7 separate regions of the Homo sapiens genome follow, and all the other regions are linked to region 4. Evidence: promoter capture Hi-C in human tissues and cell types (Jung and others, 2019). All regions are on one chromosome and are shown on one strand. The core of a region is centred on a gene start or on the middle of the fragment in contact, and the rest is flanking DNA. Distances in the headings are between cores, read along the strand shown.

Region 1 (2,722 bases), core at 164-2,663, 460 kb before region 4:
AGCTGAAAATAAAAGTTTTCCTGGCTTTGAAAAACAAAAGGTTCAGCAACATTTTAAGCAAAAAATTAAAAAGGATTACTTCAGTTTTCTATTAGTTCAGTCCATTTTGTTAACTCTTATTCTGCAATTCAGCTCTTCATGAATCCTATATTGTTTTCCTCTATTCCAATGTCACAATCTCCCAAGTTATCAGAAACCTTTATTTAAGAGCACGTGTCAAAGTCCTATAGCTGATTATAAACCATCTTTTGAAAAGGATCAAAACAAGACAACAGTTGTCTCTGAATAACAAAATGTCCAGGGTAGTTACAGTCAAAAACAGGATTAACAAAGAAATTTGGTTATTATTGTGGTTTATAATAACTTAACATAGTAACTCTAATTATGATTGATAGCATATACTCAAACATTAGAATTTTAGAAATCCAATACAATTTTGGAACATATTTTAATATGATATACTAAAATATAACCTGAAGAAGTTAAACATAATTTTTATTTTGACAATGCTGTGTAACTAAACATGTCAGATAATCCTGTTTATTTCTCTTTTGGGTGCTTCAGGGGCCCTCTGTAGCAGCTAAAAGTTGGGAGTCAGGAAAGAGAATTTTGAAGTTGAAGTTTGATTTTGGGAAGCCTATCAAATATGTTAAAGATTTAGAACACTTGATATTATGAAATAGAATTCCAGGTTATCATAAATCATTTATTTACCTAAAATGATGGCTCAAAATTTTAATGTTATATATCTTTATTTCTTTAATCATACGATCCATTCTTTTTTTATTATTATACTTTAAGTTCTGGGGTACATAGGCACAACATGCAGGTTTGTTACATACGTGTACATGTCCCATGTTGGTTTGCTGCACCCATCAATTCGTCATTTGCATTAGGTATTTCTCCTAATGCTATCCCTCCCCAAGCCCTCCACCCCTCAACAGGCCTCAGTGTGTGATGTTCCCCTCCCTGTGTCCATGTATTCTCATTGTTCAAATCCCACTTATGAGTGAGAACATGCGGTGTTTGGTTTTCTCTTCTTGTGTTACTTTGCTGAGAATGATGGTTTCCAGTTTCATCCATGTCCCTGCAAAGGACATGAACTCATCCTTTATTATGGCTGCATAGTATTCCATGATGTATATGTGCCACATTTTCTTTACCTAGTCTATAATTGATGGGCATTTGGGTTGGTTCCAAGTCCTTGCCATTGTGAATAGTGCTGGGCCCAAGCTGAGCTGCTGTCAGTATCCAAAGGGTCCAGTCTGGTGATCTGAAGAACAACAACAGGAGACTCTGGACAGCAGAAAAGGTCCATCCCTGATCTAGGTTCTGAGGGCCTGCCATGAGCCTTTCCATCTTAGTTCAAATTTCTCCTTTCACTGTGAGAGTTACCTGAAACTCGGCGTCTGTGATGGTCTAGGGGGCTTCCAAGGTGATCGGGCAGTGTCAGTCTTCAGCCACTAAGCCGAGAAGATCTGGGAAGGAGTCAGTCAGAGAGCCAGGGGCTCTGCGAGTGGCTGCCAGGTGAGTTGAACTGTCCGATTTTCAGTGGGGTCCTGCACAGATTGGACGCAGCTTAGGAGGAATTCTGGGCTGTGGGCATTCCTTGGCCTGGTGGCCAGATTTCTGGCACTTGTAGCAAGCTTCTGGGGGAGGCGGGCCTGAAGGAATGCCTGGCCACTGTGGTTTAGGCATTTGGAAGTTTTTGTGTGTGGAGATGTGGCTGGGGTTTGTCTCACAGTGGAGGCAAGGAATTGCAACTCAGAAATATGTTGCTACTTGGCTGCCTCTACTCTATTATTGTACACCTTGAAGGCGAGGTTAATTAAGTCCTGTTGTGGGGTTTGAGGGCTGGAATTTAATTTTTGGAGTTTTATTTAATGTCGGGAGCAGATTGGATAATAAAATGTATATTGAGAATAAGACGTCCTTTTGACCTTTTAGGGTCTAGGGCTGTAAAGCGTCTCAGGGTTGCTGCTAAATGAGCCATGAACTGGGCTGGGTTCTTATATCTGTTGAAAAAGAGCCTAAATGCTCTCTAATTTGGGATAAAGAAAAAGGAGCATTAACCTTGATTGTGCCTTTAGCTCCAGCCACCTTTTTAAGAGGAAATTGCTGGGCAGGTGGGGGAGGGCTAGTCTCAGAACGAAACTGTGAGCCGGACCTGGTGTGAGGAGGGGAGGTGATAAAAAGGATAATAGGGTGGAGGAGCAGAGGCTGAGGAAGAATTGGGACCTAGCTCAGCCTGGCGAGGAGGGGAGAGGTCAGATGGGTCTGTAGAAAAGGAATATTAGAAAGACTCAGCGATGCTTGGGGTTGGGACTAAGGGGACAGGCGGGAGAGAAAGAAGGAAGATTTGGGACAAGTTGCATTGGGAACAGAAACTAGGGAGGGACCGACGTGTAAAAGAATGCCTGGACGTCAGGCACCTCAGACCGTTTGCCTATTTTACGGCAAGAATTATTTAGATCTCATAGGATGGAAAAATTGAAAGTGCTATTTTCTCGCTATTTGGAACCACTGTTGAGTTTGTATTGGGTCAAGTGGCATTGCAGAAGGAAATAAGGCATTTAGGTTTTAGGTCAGGTGTTTGTTGAAGAGGTTTTAGGTTTTTAAGAACACAGGCTAAGGGAGAAGAAGGGGGAATGGAGGGTGGAAGCTTGCCCATAGTGAAGGAGGCAAGCCCAGAGAAAAGAGAGAGTAGAGACACGGAGAGAAG
Region 2 (2,700 bases), core at 198-2,697, 480 kb after region 4:
ATCACAGATGAGCTTGCTGAGATTTTCATGTACTCATTAGATTTACAAGTTAATTTACTTTGTGGACCAGGCAAAGGGTATTATATTAAGAAATAAATGATTTAACTATTGGTCCATGTTTGGGACCACCTCAGTTTTTACACAGAACACCGTGCCTCATCAGATGTTTTTGCCTAACATGGCAGTAAAGGTAATTTTTCTCTAGGGAGTATCCCAGCTTTTAAATAATGTTTTCTAGAACATTTCTAGCTGACAGGGAGTTTATAGAGTTTAAAGTTTAAAATATAAGCTTACAGGGTTAAGCTTATATTTTTACTTTCTGACAGGTAAAAAAAACTTTGTAATCTTCTCCACACAGCAATATTTACCAGTAATCCACACTTCCAACCACAACATGATTTTTGCAGGGATAGGGTTAGGCTTGGGCTGACTAGAGATTTTCTTCAAAGAGCCTCCTCATCATCAAGGCCCTTTGGAGTTTAGAATGTGTGTGGAAGGGAAGATGCCAACGCGAAGTGTGTGAGAACAACAGAAGGAGGAGACTTTCTTTTATTTTTATTTTCGAGATGGAGTCTCCCTTAGTCGCCCAGGCTGGAGTGCAGTGGAGTGATCTCAGCTCACTGCAACCTCCGCCTCCCAGGTTCCAGCAATTCTCCTGCTTCAGCCTCCTGAGTAACTGGGATTACAGGCACGTGTCACCACGCCTGGCTAATTTTTGTATTATTAGTAGAGATGGGATTTGACCATGTTGGCCAGGATGGTCTTGAACTCCTGACCTCAGGTGATCCACCCACCTCTGCCTCCCAAAGTGCTGGGATTACAGGTGTGAGCCACTGTGCCGACGTATCTTTTAATTTTTAAAATAGAGATAGGGTCTCACCATCTTGACCAGGCTGCTCCTGAACTCCTGGCCTCAAGTGATCCTCCCATCTTGGACTCCCAAAGTGCCGGGATTACAGATGTGAGCCACCACATCTGGCCAGAAGGAGCAGACTTTGTCCAGAGAATTTTTAAAGAGAAAAAAAGCTGGTTAAAAGTGGGGATATCTGGGGCAGAGCACTTGGGAAGGTTATGGAAGCTGGAGGCCAAGAGGCGCCATCGCAGAACAACACAAAAATTCAGGTGAGGTGAGGAGAAGGGAGAGCAGCTTTGGGCAGCACAGAAGGCAGCAAATACAGAAAATTATAAAGATCAAAAACCTGAAATCCCACCATCCAAAGACAGCCACAAAGGTATTTTGGTAAACATCTTTCCTGATATTTCCATATTCAATCACGTGCTTTAACATTCTTTAAATCAATTAAAAAAAAACAAAAACAAAAAACAAAACAGGGTCTGGCTCTGTTGCCCAGGCTGGCATGCAATGGTGCGATCATGGCTCACGGCAACCTCTGCCTCCCAGGCACAAGCAATCCTCCCACCTCAGCCTCCTGAGAAGCTGGGATTACAGGCACGTGCTGCTATGCCCGGCTATTTTTTTTTTTTAGTAGAGATGGGGTTTTGCAAGAGCCTAAGTTGCCAAGGCTGGTCTCAAACTCCTGGGCTCAAGGGATCCACCTACCTTGGCCTCCCAAAGTGCTGGGATTACATGCATGTAATCCGTGCCCAGCCCACATCAATCTTGGCTAGAGGAAACAAAGGGGAAAGATTACTTATTTAGGACATGGACATCCATGTGTGCTGCCTTATTGCTAACATGCTCACAAACCACTAGAAAGAACTTTTTCAGAAACTTGAATTGCCTCTGTCAGATTCTCCAGAATTTCTTTTCTTCCTTCCTCCGTCCCTTTCCTGGGCCACCTCCTCCATAGGCACCTGTGTCACTGTCAGAAAACATAACAGAGCTTGTTTCTCTTGGGACCGCATTGTGCTTTAGGGGTTCTAGCCTAACCTTATCTTTTTCCTTCAGAGCAGTGTTTTTCTTGGGTATCTCTATGGAACCCATCAGGAAAGCTCATCTCTTGAGTACCCAGGAAGCTAAGAGGGCAATAGCTGGCCAGAGTAGATCAGGGAAAGGCAAGGGAAAACTCTATGCTCACCACTTAGCTTACTCCTACAAAGTGTGTGCAGCCCATATCCAGCCAAGTTATGACTTGCCTTTGAACAGTTAACTGAGCATGATACTGCCTGATTGAAGGGTGTGGAAAGGAAACCAACATTTGGTGAGCTCCTGCTCTGTACTCTGTACTAGTTACTTTTTACATTATTTTATTCAATCTTAAAAAATGCAGAGAGACAGCATTGGTATTGTTGACATTTTGCAGATGAAGAAACTAAGGCACAGGGAGGCTAAATAACTTGTCAAAGCCACCAAATTCCTAAGTGGCAGAGCTGATATTCAAATCCAGGTGTGATTTATCCAGCTCAAAAAATCATCATCCTTCTCGCTGGGTAGAAACCCTGTGGTCAACTAGAGAGTCCAGATCTCTACCTTTGTTCTTGCTTTGGGTTGCTGCTGCTATCCAATACAGAAGGACTTTGGCCTTGAACTGTAAAAGTCGTTCTTTAGGGTAGGCATTGCCATTGCCTGATGTGTTAGTCCAGGTCCTCTGAGAAGCAGACACCAAGATGGAATTAAATGTGCAAAGATTTTATTAAGAAAAATTCTGCTGTGAGAGACATGGGCAGGAGGAGAAGGCTGAGAGCCGTCAGATGGCAATGCAAGTCCGATCTCAAAGAAGAAAAGGAGGGAAGGTTGGA
Region 3 (2,830 bases), core at 222-2,721, 450 kb after region 4:
CAAACCTGCATATTGTGCACATGTACCCTAAAACTTAAAGTATAATTAAAAAAGAAAAATTAAAAAAAATCCTAAAATTTATAAGGAACCACAAAAAAACCAAATAGCCAAAGCTATTCTGAGCAAAGGGAATAAAACTGGAGGAATCACATTACCTGACTTTGAATTATACTACAGAGCTATAGTAACCAATACAGCAGCACTATCTACAACAGCCAAGATTTGGAAGCAACCTAAGTGTCCATCAACAGAGGAATGGATAAAGAAAATGTGCTACATATACACTAACATGAAAACAGACACATAGACCAAGAGAACAGAATAGAGAACCAAGAAAGGAATTCATGCATCTACAGTAATTCATTTTCAACAAAGGTGCCAAGAACATACACTGGGGAAAGGACAGTCTCATCAATAAATGGTGCTGGGGAAACTGGATATCTATGTGCAGAAGAATGAAACTAGATCCCTATCTCAACATATACAACAATCACATCAGAATGGATTGGCCAGGTGCGGTGGCTCATGTCTGTAATCCCAGCACTTTGGGAGGCCGAGGCAGGCGGATCACTTGAAGTCAGGAGTTCAAGACCAGCCTGGCCAACATGGCGAAGCCCCATCTCTACTAAAAATACAAAAAAATTAGCCTGACATGGTGGCAGGTGCCTGTAATCCCAGCTATGTGGGAGGCTGAGGCAGGAGAATCGCTTGAACCTGGGAGGCGGAGGTTGCAATGAGCCGAGATGATGCCACTGCACTCCAGCCTGGACGACAGAGCCAGACTTCATCTAAAAAAAAAAAATCAGAATGGATTAAAGACTTAAGTCTAAGACCTCAAACTATGAAACTACTAAAAGAAAACTTCGGGGAAACTCTCCAGGACATTGGTCTGGGCAAAGATTTCTTAAGTAATGCCCCACAAGCATAGGCAACCAAAGTGAAAATGGAGAAATGGAATCACATAAAGTTAAAAAGCTTCTGCACAGCAAAGGAAACAATCAACAATGTGAGAAGATAACCCATACAATGGGAGAGAATATTTGCAAATTATCCATCTGACAAGGGGTTAATAACCAGAATATATAACAAGCTCAAACAACTCTATAGGAAAGAAATCTGAGAATCTGATTTTAAAATATGTGAATAACATTTCTCAAAAGAAGACATACAAATGGCAAAGAGGCATATGAAAAGGTGCTCAACATCATTGGTCATCAGAGAAATGCAAACCAAAACTATAATGATATATAATCTCACCTCAGTTTAAAAAGTGGCTTTTTCGACAGGCAATAATGAATACTGGTGAGGATGCGGAGTAAAGGGAACCCTCCTCCACTATTGGTGGGGATGTTGATTAGTACAAGCACTACGGAGAACAGTTTGGAGGTTCCTCAAAAAACTAAAAATAGAACTACCATATGATCCAGCAATCTCACTTCTAGGTATATACCCAAAAGAAAGGAAATCAATATATCAAAGAGATATCTGTATGCCCATTTTTATTGAAGCACTATTCTCAATAGCTAAGATTTGGAAGCATGATAAGTGTCCATCAACAGAGGAATGGATAAAGAAAATGTGCTACATATACACAATGGAGTACTATTCCGCCATAAAATGAATGAGATTCTATCATTTGCAACAACATAGCTTGAATTGGAGGTCATTATGTTAAAGAAAATAAGCCAGGCACGAAAAGACAAACTTCACATGTTCCCACTTATTTGTGGGAGCTTAAAATTAAAACAATTGAACTCAAGGAGATAGAGAGTAGAAGGATGGTTACCAGAGGCTGGGGAGAGTAATGTAAGTGGGGTGGGTTAGGTGGAATGGGGATGGTTAATGGGGACAAAAATATAGTTAAGCAGAATGAATAAGATCTAGTATTTGAGCCGGGCAGGGTGGCTTGTGCCTGTAATCCCAGCCACTCGGGAGGCTGAGGCAAGAGAATGGCTTGAACCTGGGAGGCGGAGGTTGCAGTGAGCTGAGATTGCACCACTGCACTCCAGCCTGGGCAACAGAGTGAGACTCCACCTCAAAAAAAAAAAAATCTAGTATTTGATATCACAACAGGGTGACTATAGCCAACAATAATTTATTGTGCATTTTAAAATAACTGAAAGTTATTTGATTGTAACACAAAGGATGAAAGCTTGAGGTGATAGATATCCCATTCACCCTGATGTAATTATTACACATTGTATGTCTGTTTCAAAATGTCTCATGTGCCCCATAAATATATACACATACTATGTACCCACAAAAATTAAAAATAAATTTAAAAAAAGAAAAAAAGAAAAGCCTGGACTGCTTTTGAATAGTTGGTGTATAATCTCTGGAGTTATGCGGTAAGGATCGATGACATGGCAGCCAACATTCACTTCTCATGGCACACTGTGGCATGCTGCAGTGTGGTCTGATCTGACTGGATAATAGCTGGGTTGAACACAAGGGGACCCCTACATCAGCCTTGAGAGAGGGCACAATTCAAACTTGGTAGCTGGGCAGCTTGGAGGCTCTCAAACACTAAAATCTACAATCTAGACTCTAGATTGTAGAATCTAGATTCTATTCTAGAGAATAACATGAAGACCCTACAGATCCTGGTTCAAAAGGCCACTACCAACAGACACAATCCCACAAACAGAACCATAAAGAGTTAGGGACCACTGGGCCAGGGCACTGCTTTATGCGTCCAGTCTCAGCAGCTTTTCCATCACCAATTCAGACACCTCACTGAGCTGCCATTTTGGGTGAGATGGGAGGCTTCTCATTGAGTTCCCCAGTTCCTTCTTGGTATGCCTAAGTAGTACTCCCTTTTGGTCACATA
Region 4 (2,700 bases), core at 1-2,500:
TGCAAACTGGAATAAATCGTCCTGGGTTTACGGATCTTTTTTCCCTTGCCATTGAAGCGCACTTCACCGCCTTCCACCACCGTGCTCTTCTCCGAGTCCGCCCCTGGAGGGACAGCAGAAGTAGGGCCCGTTGTTAATACGAGGGGCCGCCTTTAGTGCGAACAGCCGAGAGCGAGTGGCTACCGAAGGGTGGCGGAGGCAGCACCAGGGAGAGAACGTTCAAGAAACTCTGAAAGCCAGGGAAGGGTCCCCCAAAATCCGAGGGCCTGTCCCGGGACGCTGCAGGAGGGATAGAGCCGTTCCCAGGAGCTCAGCTCCTGCCTTTGCAGGGAAAGTTTGCTATTTTTGCAGGCGGTAGTTGAGGTTTAATTACCCTTAATTGCATACATTGTTTATAGCGCTACGCAATAAATAATTACCGAGACTAATACGTGCACATGTGGGTTTCTGTTTTCCAGCGGGGCATTGTGTGCTCTGCACACCGAGCCGCCCAGAGGCCCAGCCAGTGCCAGGAGACGCTCTGGGATTTATCCTTGGCTGGATAGTTGCAAATTGAGGGAATTTTTAAAAAAATTTATTTGCTGTGACAAGGATCTATAGATTGATATTCGAAACCTCCACTGCTCCCGCGCCCTCCCCACCCCCACCCCACCTCGCTCTCCTCTCTTCTCTTTCTCTCTCTCTCCCTCTCCTCTTCTCCCCCGCTCCTTCTTTCCCTCTCTCCCTTGTACCTCCTCCTCTCCCTCTCCCTGGCAAGCGCACGTACCTGGGTCCTCCAGGCGGCTCTGGGCGAGGCTGGCGCTGCCCGGGTAGGACTGCACCGAACTGATGTAGGGGCTGGATGCGTGGCTGCTGACCGAGTTGACGTAGGGGTAGCCCAGCGGTCGGGAGAAGGACGAGGCTGAGCTGTAGGCGCCGTCGGGCTGCGAATGGCCCGCCGAGTGTAAACAGTGCATGGAGTAGTGCCCGTGGGACATGGGAGAAGGAGACATTTGCTGGTTGGGCGGCCCAAACTCCATAAACACCGCCTTGCCCGACACGGGGCTGTTGAGACTTTCTGGCATGGTGGTCATGGTCATCTCTTCTCGCGGGGTCTGGGTGTGGGACTTTCTCTCCTCTGCTTCCCTTTTGGGGGTCTCTATGTTTCTCAGGACAGGAAGGAACCCAATTTAAGCGGAACAGGGGTTTTCACTTTCCATTCATAAGAAAATGGAGTTTGTCTCTTTGAAAAGTCTAAGCATGATGCTGCTGAGCTCCCCAAACTCGGTTCAAAGCTTTGACTCAGCGAAGGTCATAAATATTCATGAGCTGGCGGAGCTGATTGGTCCGCTGTCTTGCATAATCACTGGGGATTGGTCCGAGGCGCTCGGGCTCCGCTGGACTAGAGCGGGCGAGGCGGCCCGGCCTCGGGTAAGACGCATCCACACTTCCCGGCCGGGGCTCCTCTGCAACAGAGCGCGCCGGGCAGGAAGCACAATGGGCTGCGGCGTCTGCGCCGGGGCCCCTGCGGCCCGCGGCTCATCGGCCTCCCGCCTCCCTCGCGCGCTTTCCTCCCCAGGAACCAACCAGCGGCTCCGCGCCGCCGCCCCCCTACCACTGTCCCCACCCTTCAGCGGTCCCTAACACCGGACACCCGGGACCGCTTCTCGTCGCTGCCACTCAGTTCGGCGCAGAGCTAGGGCGGCTCAGGAGGAGACTGACCTCTGCCTCTGGAGCGCGGAGTCGCGCACTGGGGGCGCCCGAGGCGGCCAACAGACAGAGGTTCTCCTAAGAGCCTTGTGCCTAGCGCAGCGCCTATCCGGCCGCGCCTCCCCGGTACGCTCTGCCGCATCCCTGGAGTCGGGGCTTAGGGGCCCTCCCTGCGAACTCACTCACTCGGCCGCTGCGCCAACGCCGCTGTCGCTCCCTGGGGCCCGCTCGCATTGCTCCAGGCCCAGCTGGCCACTCCAGCTCGAGGCTGCACGGGTCTGATTAAAGCAGTGCGCGTGGAGAGCCAGGAACCCGCGCTTCTCCTCCCAGGAAAGGCGGCTGCACCGCCCCCTCCCCCAACACACACATCCTCTTTCCCTCCCAGCCTTCCTCCTCCTCCCCCTCCCTTCTCCACTCCCCATGCGCGGAGAGCCCCGGGCTCACTCGCCCCGAGAGCGCGGCTCAGCGTGGAGCCCAGGGGGCCTAGGGGCTCAGATCTGCTGGAGCCACCGACGCCAGGTGGTCATTTTCCGGCCTCCTGAGGTCTAGCGCGACTTCCAGAGTTTAGGAGTCCCTGGGGGACACCGAAACCCGCAGCAAACCCAGGCCTGTGGTAGGCTCCCTTATCTATGTGTAGACGTCTCTCGTTGCCACCCAGGATCTTCCTCACCTCCAGTGGCCAAAGCGCGCGCCACCAGGCCTAGGGGGCAGGGCTAGTGGAGGCAAGATCTGCCGCTGCTCCTTCTGTCTTCTGGGGTGCTAGGTACAAAAAAGTGCACAAGAGCCCCCACCCCATCGCCACTACTACCAATACAGCCAGTCCCTCGCGGTGTGGCGTACACCACCCTGGCTGTAAGTGGATGTTGGTTCCCCATCCCGCCAGCCCCACGGTGAATCCCAAATTACTTTGTTAGGTAATTAGAAAGTGTTGATAATTATTTCTTTCATAATTTAGCGGTGTGACGGGAACGGGGAAATGATCTTGTGAAAGTTCACACGTGCAGATGTATT
Region 5 (2,700 bases), core at 112-2,611, 390 kb after region 4:
AAAGCTGGATAATATCCAGTCATCATGTGAATATGGTAAAGCAGTTACTTTTTCATGCACTGGTAGCGGGCGGGTAAACTTTGTAGCCATTCTGGAGAGTGACACGCAGAACCTAATTAAGCTAAGTCTTATATACAATAACATAGCAAGTAAATTCTTGGGGATACACCCCAGAGAAAGTATTCCACAGTCCTCAAGGGAAAAAACACATATTTTTTGCAGTGTTGCTTATGATAGTAAAGCAAAGAGACAAAAGGAAACTGAGTGCATAGCACTGGGGGAATGGATAAGTAAAATGTGGTACATAATAGGATATTATATATTAGAAATAAATGACTAAATACGTATATAGCAACATGGAATAAACAAAAGACATACAGCACTATGCCATTTATATATATAAAGTATATATACACAGAGATATGTGAAACCTTGAAAAACAGAGGATAATCTGAAGGATGTATGTTAAAAATTCAAAAGTGGGCCGGGCATGGTGGCTAACACCTGTAATCCAAGCACTTTGGGAGGCCGAAGAAGGCGGATCATGAGGTCAGGAGTTCGAGACCAGCCTGGCCAACGTGGTGAAAGCCCGTCTCTACTAAAGATACAAAAAATTAGTCAGGTGTGGTGGCACGTGCCTGTAATCCCAGCTACTTGGGAGGCTGAGGCAGGAGAATCGCTTAAACTCGGGAGGTGGAGGTTGCAGTGAGCTGAGATCACGTGATTGCACTACAGCCTGGGCGACAGGGCAAGACTCCGTCTCAAAAAAAAAACCAAAAACCAAACAAATAAACAAACAAAAACTGCAAAAGTGGTCACTTAATGCATTAGTGGGAATGAGAATGGAATTAGAGATGAGAAATGAGGGACACATACACAAACCCTAAAGAATGGTCTTTCAAGAATTAATGATGGAGATGGGCCATTGATACAGTTTGGACATCCCCTCCAAATCTCTTGTTGAGATGTAATCCCCAGTGTTGGAAGTGGGGCCTAGTGGGAGATGTTTGGGTCATGGAGGCGGATCCCTCACGGTTTTGTTTAAAACTGTGTGGCACCTCCCCCCACCTCTTGCTCTTGCTCACTGCATGAGACATGCTGACGCCCCTTTGCCTTCTGCCATGATTAGAAGCTTCCTGAGGCCTTGCCACAAGAAGCCAGCAACATACTTCCTGTAAAGCTTGCAGAGCCATGAGCCAATTAAACCTCTTTTCTTTTTTTTTGAGACGGAGTTTCACTCCTGTTGCCCACACTGGAGTGCAATAGCCAGATCTCAGCTCACCACAACCTCTGCCTCCCAGGTTCAAGCAATTCTCCTGCCTCAGCCTCCTGAGTAGCTGGGATTACAGGCATGCGCCACCACGCCCACCTAATTTTGTATTTTTAGTAGAGACGGGGTTTCTCCGTGTTGGTCAGGCTAGTCTTGAACTCCCGACCTCAGGTGATCCGCCCACCTCGGCCTCCCAAAGTGCTGGGATTACAGGCGTGAGCCACCCCACCCAGCCACCTCTTTTCAAGTTACCCAGCCTCAGTATTTCTTTATAGCAACACAAAGAACTAACCCAGCCATAAATTAAGAAATATGAACACTTTAGGGGTGGGTGGATCATGAGGTCAGGAGTTCGAGACCAGCCTGGCCAATATGGTGAAACCCTGTCTCTACTAAAAGTACAAAAATTAGCTGGCGTGGTGGCACAAGCCTGTAGTCCCAGCTACTCAGGAAGCTGAGGCAGAAGAATCGCTTGAACCCAGGAGGTGGAGGTTGCAGTGAGCCGAGATTGTGCCACTGCACTCCAGCCTGGGAGAGTGAGTGAGACTCAGCCTCAAAAAAAAAAAAAGAAGAAAGAAATATGAACAAGTGAGTTCAGTGAAACTAAAGTCTTAAGAAGAACATAAAAGAAAAAAAATCCTATAGGAGAAAAACAAAAGCCAAAGCACAGAAAAAAAAGGTAACTCAAACAAAGGCTAACAAGCAACTTGGTTTAGTTACAAGAAATTAAGTGTTCTGATTCATTTACTTTTAAAATTGCATGTTCAACATAAGCTTATTGAATAAATACATAAAATTAATATACTTCAGTCTTCAAATTCTACAAGAAAAGGAAAATGAGCTGAAAGAAATAACAATGAAGCTGACCATGAGAGTAGCCAGCCTTTTCATCTTGAAACCTTTTAGAAATATCAGCTCTAAGGACAGTTATGTTGCAGTTTCACAACAAGCATAGAGCATTTACAATCTCCAGTATTTGTCCCCTGGACTAGATAAAATTAGCCCACCAACTAGCCCTAAAATGTTAGGTCTCTAAAGGATAAAGGCCATGTTAAACTAAAATACTACATAATAGCACCCAGCACAGAACTATTTTAAGTAAGCATTTGTTCCTGATATGTAACTAGATTGTCCTGTGTACCTCTACTATTTCAGCTTTTTTGGTCTAGTACAGTTATCAAAATGAATAACCCAGAAAAATAATAAGATTAAGTCAAATCACTTCGAAAATAAGCCACAAAATTATCTCCCTTATTAGCATTAACAGCAGAAGGCTATAAGCTTATCCTTCCACTCCTGTACCTTTGAATACTAATATATTTTGCATTCTAACAATATAAGTCTGATTGTATCTCTCGCTAATCTCCAGAAAGGAATATAGAGTTCAGATCAGGAATCCTAGTTATCTTTGAGCTTAACACAGTATGGCA
Region 6 (2,747 bases), core at 187-2,686, 410 kb after region 4:
CAAGTCAGTGAATCAAGAACTAGTGCTACTCAGAAGCAGAGCAGAGAAATTGTTTTAGTGGTAGTGACTGTGGTAGCAACATCCAGTTTTTGGAGCAGCGACTCCAGCTTCCTTTGTGTATGACAGCTTTACCTACAGAGGCAAAGGCAACGGGGCCCTCTTAGACTGGGTCCAGGTGTGATCTTGCCCGAAGCTCTGTTTGTCCAGGCTTGCTTTGTTTCTTCCTGTTCTCCAAACCTGGTATTCTGGCCCTCCTGGAAATTCTGTGAGCCACTCAATGCACTCCAATACATTTCTTTCAGGCTTAAATCAGCCCGAGTCAGTTTCTGGTGATTCCATCTAAGAATCCTGATGAATATGGGGGCTGGGAGAGGAATTGGAGTACATTGCAGTATTGGAGGACATTGGGATTACAGGAACGTGCAGAAGCCCTGAAGTGGGAGTGGAGGTGGAGAGAGAGCTTGGATTATTTCAGGAACTGAGAAAGAAATCAAAGTGGTTGGGGTTAGTGAAAAGGTGGCAAGTGGATAAGATGGGTGCAAGTGGACGAGCTAGGCAAGAGTCCAAGCTAGCAGGTACCCATAATAGAAGTAGGAAATGTGCTGGGCCTATTCTTTTCTCAGCCAGACTCAACTGTCTCATGTGTCCTGATCAGATGGGTCTCCATTGGTCAGCAGGACTCCAGGGCCATTCTGGTGTGGTGGTATCCACTCTGCTGTGCCAAGAAATTCCAAACCATGTCCCACACAGAAGGCTAAGCCTTGGGCTTTCCATTTCCAACCCAATGAGATCTCTCTCCTTTGAAGACCAAGATACTGTTTATGTATCCCTAAAGACATTTATAACATTCAGCTTTTGTTATATGTTTTTGAGAATTTGTCATATCCCTTACTAGACAGTTAACTCTCTGAGAACAGGGTGGGGAGGTGGAATGATTACATGCTTTGGCAAAAATACATCTGGAATTAAAAATTTTTTTGGTCCTTTCAATTACACGTTATATGATCGCAGACAAATTGTTTCACCTCTCTAACTTCAGTTTTCTTATCTGAAAAATAAGCATACTAGTATCTACTTGTCAGGAATATATCGAAGGTTATTTTTACTGCAAATCACCACACAATGCCCACAACATAGGAGGCACTCTAAATCACACAAAAGGCTCTCTGTAAATGTTAGTTCCTTTGTGTCTTTTGTAGTATTTCATTGAACAGAATAAAATCTGCTGGATTTAGGAAAACAAAATAAAATCCTTGCTTTTTGTGCTTACCTCATTGTGAAGTGCTAATTTAAAATAATGTAGATTACACTGCTTTCTCAGTTCAGAATTTGGTCAGGAAAATTTTCTTTTTCTTAAAAACTATTTTAAGGCATTATTCGCTGTGTGTGGTGGCTCAAGCCTGTAATCCCAGTGCTTTGGGAGGCCGAGGCAGGCAGATCACCAGAGTTCAGGAGTTCGAGACCAGCCTGGCCAACATGGTGAAACCCGTCTCTACTAAAAATACAAAAATTACCTGGGCGTGGTGGTGGGCACCTGTAGTCCCAGCTACTCAAGAGGCTGAGGCAGGAGAATCTCTTGAACCCAGGAGGAAGAGGTTGTGGTGAGCTGGGATCACATCACTGCATTCCAGCCTGGGCAATATAGTGAGACCCTGTCTCAAAAAAAAAAAAGTTATTGCCATTCACTCAGCTCACTTCAGAAAGTGTAGTGATTTTTAAAAATCAACAATTTATTTTCTTCAAACATCTCTGGAGATATGATCTAGGATATAAACAAAACATTGGGTCTAAAACCAGAAGGCAGATTTTATTATCTTGAGAATGCAGGAGGATATTGCTCAAGTCCTGATTATCTTAACCAAAACATTCCCTTATGCAATATTCCCTCTTTTCCATTTTAAGAACTTGAAATCATATACGCTGTATATGATTGTCATTAACTGATCAAATATGTAACTCAGCTGTTAACTTAAAAATTTTAAAACATTATAAGACAAAAATCTTAGAGTCTCTCAAGCCCCTTGCTTCCTGACTTGTTTAAGCAACTTATCTAATGGAATGAATAGAGGTCTTTCAGAACCCTTTTCTTTCCTCCTTGCCCTGATCCTTTAACATACATTTCCTGATCTCCATCTTTTAATTTCTTTCTTCTGTTTCCTAAGATTTTGGTGCAGTTTCTTTTTTCACATCTGGGGATAGGTAAAGAATAAAAGTTTTGCATTATAAATGCATGATGTTTCACTTCAAATCGCAAATGAGACAAGGCAGATTGGACAGAAGATTCATCTATCTTTTTATCTCTAGTTACTTTCTACAAACCACAGGAACTTATAACCATTGAGGGACCAGTCAAAGAAAAGCTTGATTACATAAGGTTGTTGTTTAATGACATTTTAAAAAACATATAGCCTTCTCTTTAAAAATTCCCATATTCTCAGGCTGGGCACAGTGGCTCATACTTATGATCCTAGCACTTTGGGAGGCAGAGGTGGGTGGATTGCTTGAGCTCAGGAGTTCCAGACCAGCCTGGGATGGTGAAATTCCATCTCTACCAAAATATATTAAAAAATTATCTGGGCATGGTGGTGCATGCCTGCAGTCCCACCTACTCAGGAGGCTGAGGTGGAGGATGGCTTGAGCCCAGGAAGTTGAGGTTACCATGAGCTGTGATCATGCCACTGCACTCCATCCTGGATGACAGAGACGCTGTCTCAAAAATAAATAAACAAGTAAATAAATAAATAAAT
Region 7 (2,960 bases), core at 417-2,916, 300 kb after region 4:
ATTTTTTTTTAACTGAAAGAATTCTCCCATTATTTAAAAAGTACAGAATCTCTATGTACTTTCCCCCTTTATTTCTGGAAGTATTATTGTTTGTACCTGACTTAGTTTAAATATCACTTTTTCTCCTTTGTGGGATGTGCTGTAATTCTGATGAGAGTTAATTACATTTGCATAATGTGGATAAACAGCTTAATGCAGCTTAGCAACTCAGAGCCAAATTAGATCTGCCCATCTAAATTGGGCTTTCATCATTAACATGTTTCTTAGTTTCCTGTGCCCCTGAAACCTTGAGTACAGCCAAGCTAAGCATTAAGGTGGGAAAGTTTTTCCTCAAATCAGTTGCTTAGCTGTATCTCATGCTCATGCACAGATCTAGCATGCTCTTACTTTCTCTCTTCTGTATATTGGAATCTACATGATTTGGCCGAAAATTGAGCTTTTGTCGTGAAGCTGTCCCTCTTCTTCCTACCATTGCCCTCATTAGACCAAAGTAAGCAGTACCCCTCAGCAAACCACCTTGAACTCAATTTTTGTATTTTTTCTAATCGTTAACACTTTGTCATTAGCCAGGTGTAGTGGTGCGTGCCTGTAGTCCCAGCCAGCTACCCGGGAGGCTGAGGTGGGAGGATCACCTGAGCCTGGGAGGTCAAGGCTGCGGTGAGCCGAGATGACACCACTGTACTCCAGCCTGGGTGACAGAGTGAGAGCTTGTCTCAAAAAAAAAAAAATTTGTCTTTTATTAATAGTTATTTGCATAATTGTTATCCTCTGTACTAGGCTAATAGCTTCTTGAGGGCAAGAGTTTCATTCTCTTCATCCTTGCCTTTCCTACGTGGCCAGTGTAATAGTAATAGGTGCTCAATAAATGTCAATAACATGAATGAAAACCTTCATGTCGTCTAAGATACCAAATTAGGCACAGAAGAGATTTCATTTGAAAGAGGAGCCTTGTAAGAGCAGGGAGGTACTAAGATGCTTCCTTCTGACCTCATAGGTACAGCCTGACTCTTGAGTTAGGAAGGAGCTGACTTGGAATAGAAGGAGAGAACCAGGTGTCCTTGGCTGCACCAACACTCTGAAAAGACAAAGGAAGGAAGGGGTGCATGTTTGCTCTCTATACAACCAGTAATGAACCATTACAGAGCTCAGTGTGGCTCTGACCAGCCAGGCTTATGTTCACTGTGTTGCTCTTCCTTGCTGGGCTCATTCTCCTCTGGAGGCTCTGGCTAAACATCAGGGCAACCTGAGCAGCTCCCGGAGTGTGCTGTGCTTGTTGTGTGGTAGGAGCCCTTGGGCCTGAGAGTGTTGCGATGGACCACGTTGTTCTTGCTCGTGAAGACAGGGATGACTTTGATCATTAAGAAACGGCCCCAGGGAACTTACCGCCCTTATTTGGGGCCCAGCAAGTCCTTTCTCCTCTAGCAATGGTAATTTTAGTCAGTTTTGTGTTTAAAAGCCAGTAAAGTTACCTGCTCAGTCTTGGCAGTGAGCTGTTTGTAGCAGCCCCTTTCTGGTACTTACCAGTCTCCCACTTTTTTTTTTTTGGTGAGACAGAATCTTGCTCTGTCACCCAGGCTGGAGTGCAGTGGTACAATCTCTGCTCACTGCAACCTCTGCCTCCCGGGTTCAAGCGATTCTCCTGTGTCAGCCTCCCAAGTAGTTGGGACTACAGGCGTGTACCACCATGCCTGGCCAATTTTTGTATTTTTAGTAAAGACAGGGTTTCACCATGTTGGCCAGCACAGCTGGTCAGAGCCACACTGAGCTCTGTAATGGTTCATTACTGGTTGTATAGAGAGCAAACATGCACCCCTTCCTTCCTTTGTCTTTTCGGAGTGTTGGTGCAGCCAAGGACACCTGGTTCTCTCCTCCTTTTCCAAATCAGCTCCTTCCTAACTCAAGAGTCAGGCTGAGGCCGAGCTTGGTGGCTCATTCCTGTAATCCCAGCACTTTGGGAGGCCAAGGCGGGCAGATCACGAGGTCAGGAGATCGAGACCATCCTGGCTAACACGGTGAAACCCCGTCTCTACTAAAAATACAAAAAATTAGCCGGGCGTGGTGGCGGGCTTCTGTAGTCCCAGCTACTGGGGAGGCTGAGGCAGGAGAATGGCATGAACCTGGGAGGCGGAGCTTGCAGTGAGCCGAGATTGTGCCACTGCACTCCAGCCTGGGCGACAGAGTGAGACTGTCTCAAAAAAAAAAGAGAGTCAGGCTGTAAATGTGAGGTCTCAAACTCCTGACCTCAGGTGATCCTCCCATCTTGGCCTTCCAAAGTGCTGGGATTACAAGCGTGAACCACCACACTTGGCCCAGTCTCCTACTTTTAAATGGGGGCAGCATTTGCCTTCCAGGCTTTTCCTTGTGCTTTCCAATCAACAATGAAAAACAGCCAGAGAAGAAGAGTCTAATTGTGGACAGGTGTTTGCAAGTGGTTGAACCAAGTAAATATTTCCATGGAACTGTCAGCACCGACTTCTTCCCCATAGACATTTGATGTCAGTTTTCAGAATGAGATTATTTTTTCTAATTTTTACCAGTCAAGCTTTGCTAGCAGGAACTGAGAACATTCAGAAGTCTGCCTCCAAAGGCAGGAAGTTTACCTAGTTTCATCTGAATAGGGTGCAAGGCCATGCCAAGGGGAAGTATTTGCATTATTCCCTAGCAGAACCTCGTACAAGGCTGCCAACTCCATCCGCCTAGTGAGGATACAGTGATATTCAGGCCAAATTGAATTTCTTCCCCCGGGGAAGATTATTTTGCTCCTTTGCTCTCTGTTTTGTTTTATAAGTAAAAGGTGTGGTTGTGAAATCCATCTTTTGTGTCCTGCTGCTGATCAATCTCAACATGACCCCAGGGAGCTCGGGCACAGGGGCCTTTCCCTGACCAGCTCCCCTGTTGTTTCTTAACTGGCTGCCTGGCCACCTCTTGCTCCAGTTGTAATGACTTTTGTCATGTAAGCA

Evidence for each region. Contacts are between HindIII fragments. The study calls those that stand out against the background at their distance.
Region 1: a fragment that was not itself captured here is called in contact with the fragment with the promoter of DLX1 in region 4 in 1 of the 25 tissues and cell types used here (spleen).
Region 2: a fragment that was not itself captured here is called in contact with the fragment with the promoter of DLX1 in region 4 in 2 of the 25 tissues and cell types used here (lymphoblastoid cells and mesendoderm cells).
Region 3: a contact is called between a fragment that was not itself captured here and the fragment with the promoter of DLX1 in region 4, in 2 of the 25 tissues and cell types used here (H1 embryonic stem cells and mesenchymal stem cells).
Region 5: a contact is called between a fragment that was not itself captured here and the fragment with the promoter of DLX1 in region 4, in 2 of the 25 tissues and cell types used here (dorsolateral prefrontal cortex and lymphoblastoid cells).
Region 6: a fragment that was not itself captured here is called in contact with the fragment with the promoter of DLX1 in region 4 in 1 of the 25 tissues and cell types used here (spleen).
Region 7: a contact is called between a fragment that was not itself captured here and the fragment with the promoter of DLX1 in region 4, in 3 of the 25 tissues and cell types used here (H1 embryonic stem cells, dorsolateral prefrontal cortex and mesendoderm cells).

What each region holds. Positions count from the first base shown.
Region 1 is chr2:172,542,931-172,545,652 of GRCh38, reverse strand. The region is part of intron 1 of PDK1-AS1 (PDK1 and ITGA6 antisense RNA 1); the gene reads left to right. Among named protein-coding and RNA genes, the nearest start is that of PDK1, 12 kb to the left of the region's middle. The HindIII fragment of the contact is 3,343 bases long and covers 1-2,722 here.
Region 2 is chr2:171,599,720-171,602,419 of GRCh38, reverse strand. No RefSeq gene overlaps it. Among named protein-coding and RNA genes, the nearest start is that of CYBRD1, 79 kb to the right of the region's middle. The HindIII fragment of the contact is 3,544 bases long and covers 1-2,700 here.
Region 3 is chr2:171,638,515-171,641,344 of GRCh38, reverse strand. No RefSeq gene overlaps it. Among named protein-coding and RNA genes, the nearest start is that of DYNC1I2, 48 kb to the left of the region's middle. The HindIII fragment of the contact is 4,270 bases long and covers 1-2,830 here.
Region 4 is chr2:172,084,057-172,086,756 of GRCh38, reverse strand. DLX1 (distal-less homeobox 1) reads right to left here and starts at 1,250. Exons shown (of 3, transcript NM_178120.5): 1 at 767-1,250; 2 at 1-103. The coding sequence starts at 1,079. RefSeq lists enhancers at 379-990, 1,022-1,141, 991-1,604, 1,605-2,216, 2,217-2,700 and a silencer at 1,422-1,531. The HindIII fragment of the contact is 6,806 bases long and covers 1-2,700 here.
Region 5 is chr2:171,693,181-171,695,880 of GRCh38, reverse strand. The region is part of intron 3 of DYNC1I2 (dynein cytoplasmic 1 intermediate chain 2); the gene reads right to left. Among named protein-coding and RNA genes, the nearest start is that of DYNC1I2, 7.1 kb to the right of the region's middle. The HindIII fragment of the contact is 3,597 bases long and covers 1-2,700 here.
Region 6 is chr2:171,673,225-171,675,971 of GRCh38, reverse strand. No RefSeq gene overlaps it. Among named protein-coding and RNA genes, the nearest start is that of DYNC1I2, 13 kb to the left of the region's middle. The HindIII fragment of the contact is 8,060 bases long and covers 1-2,747 here.
Region 7 is chr2:171,788,481-171,791,440 of GRCh38, reverse strand. All of the region lies in intron 15 of SLC25A12 (solute carrier family 25 member 12), which reads left to right. Among named protein-coding and RNA genes, the nearest start is that of DYNC1I2, 100 kb to the right of the region's middle. The HindIII fragment of the contact is 3,928 bases long and covers 1-2,960 here.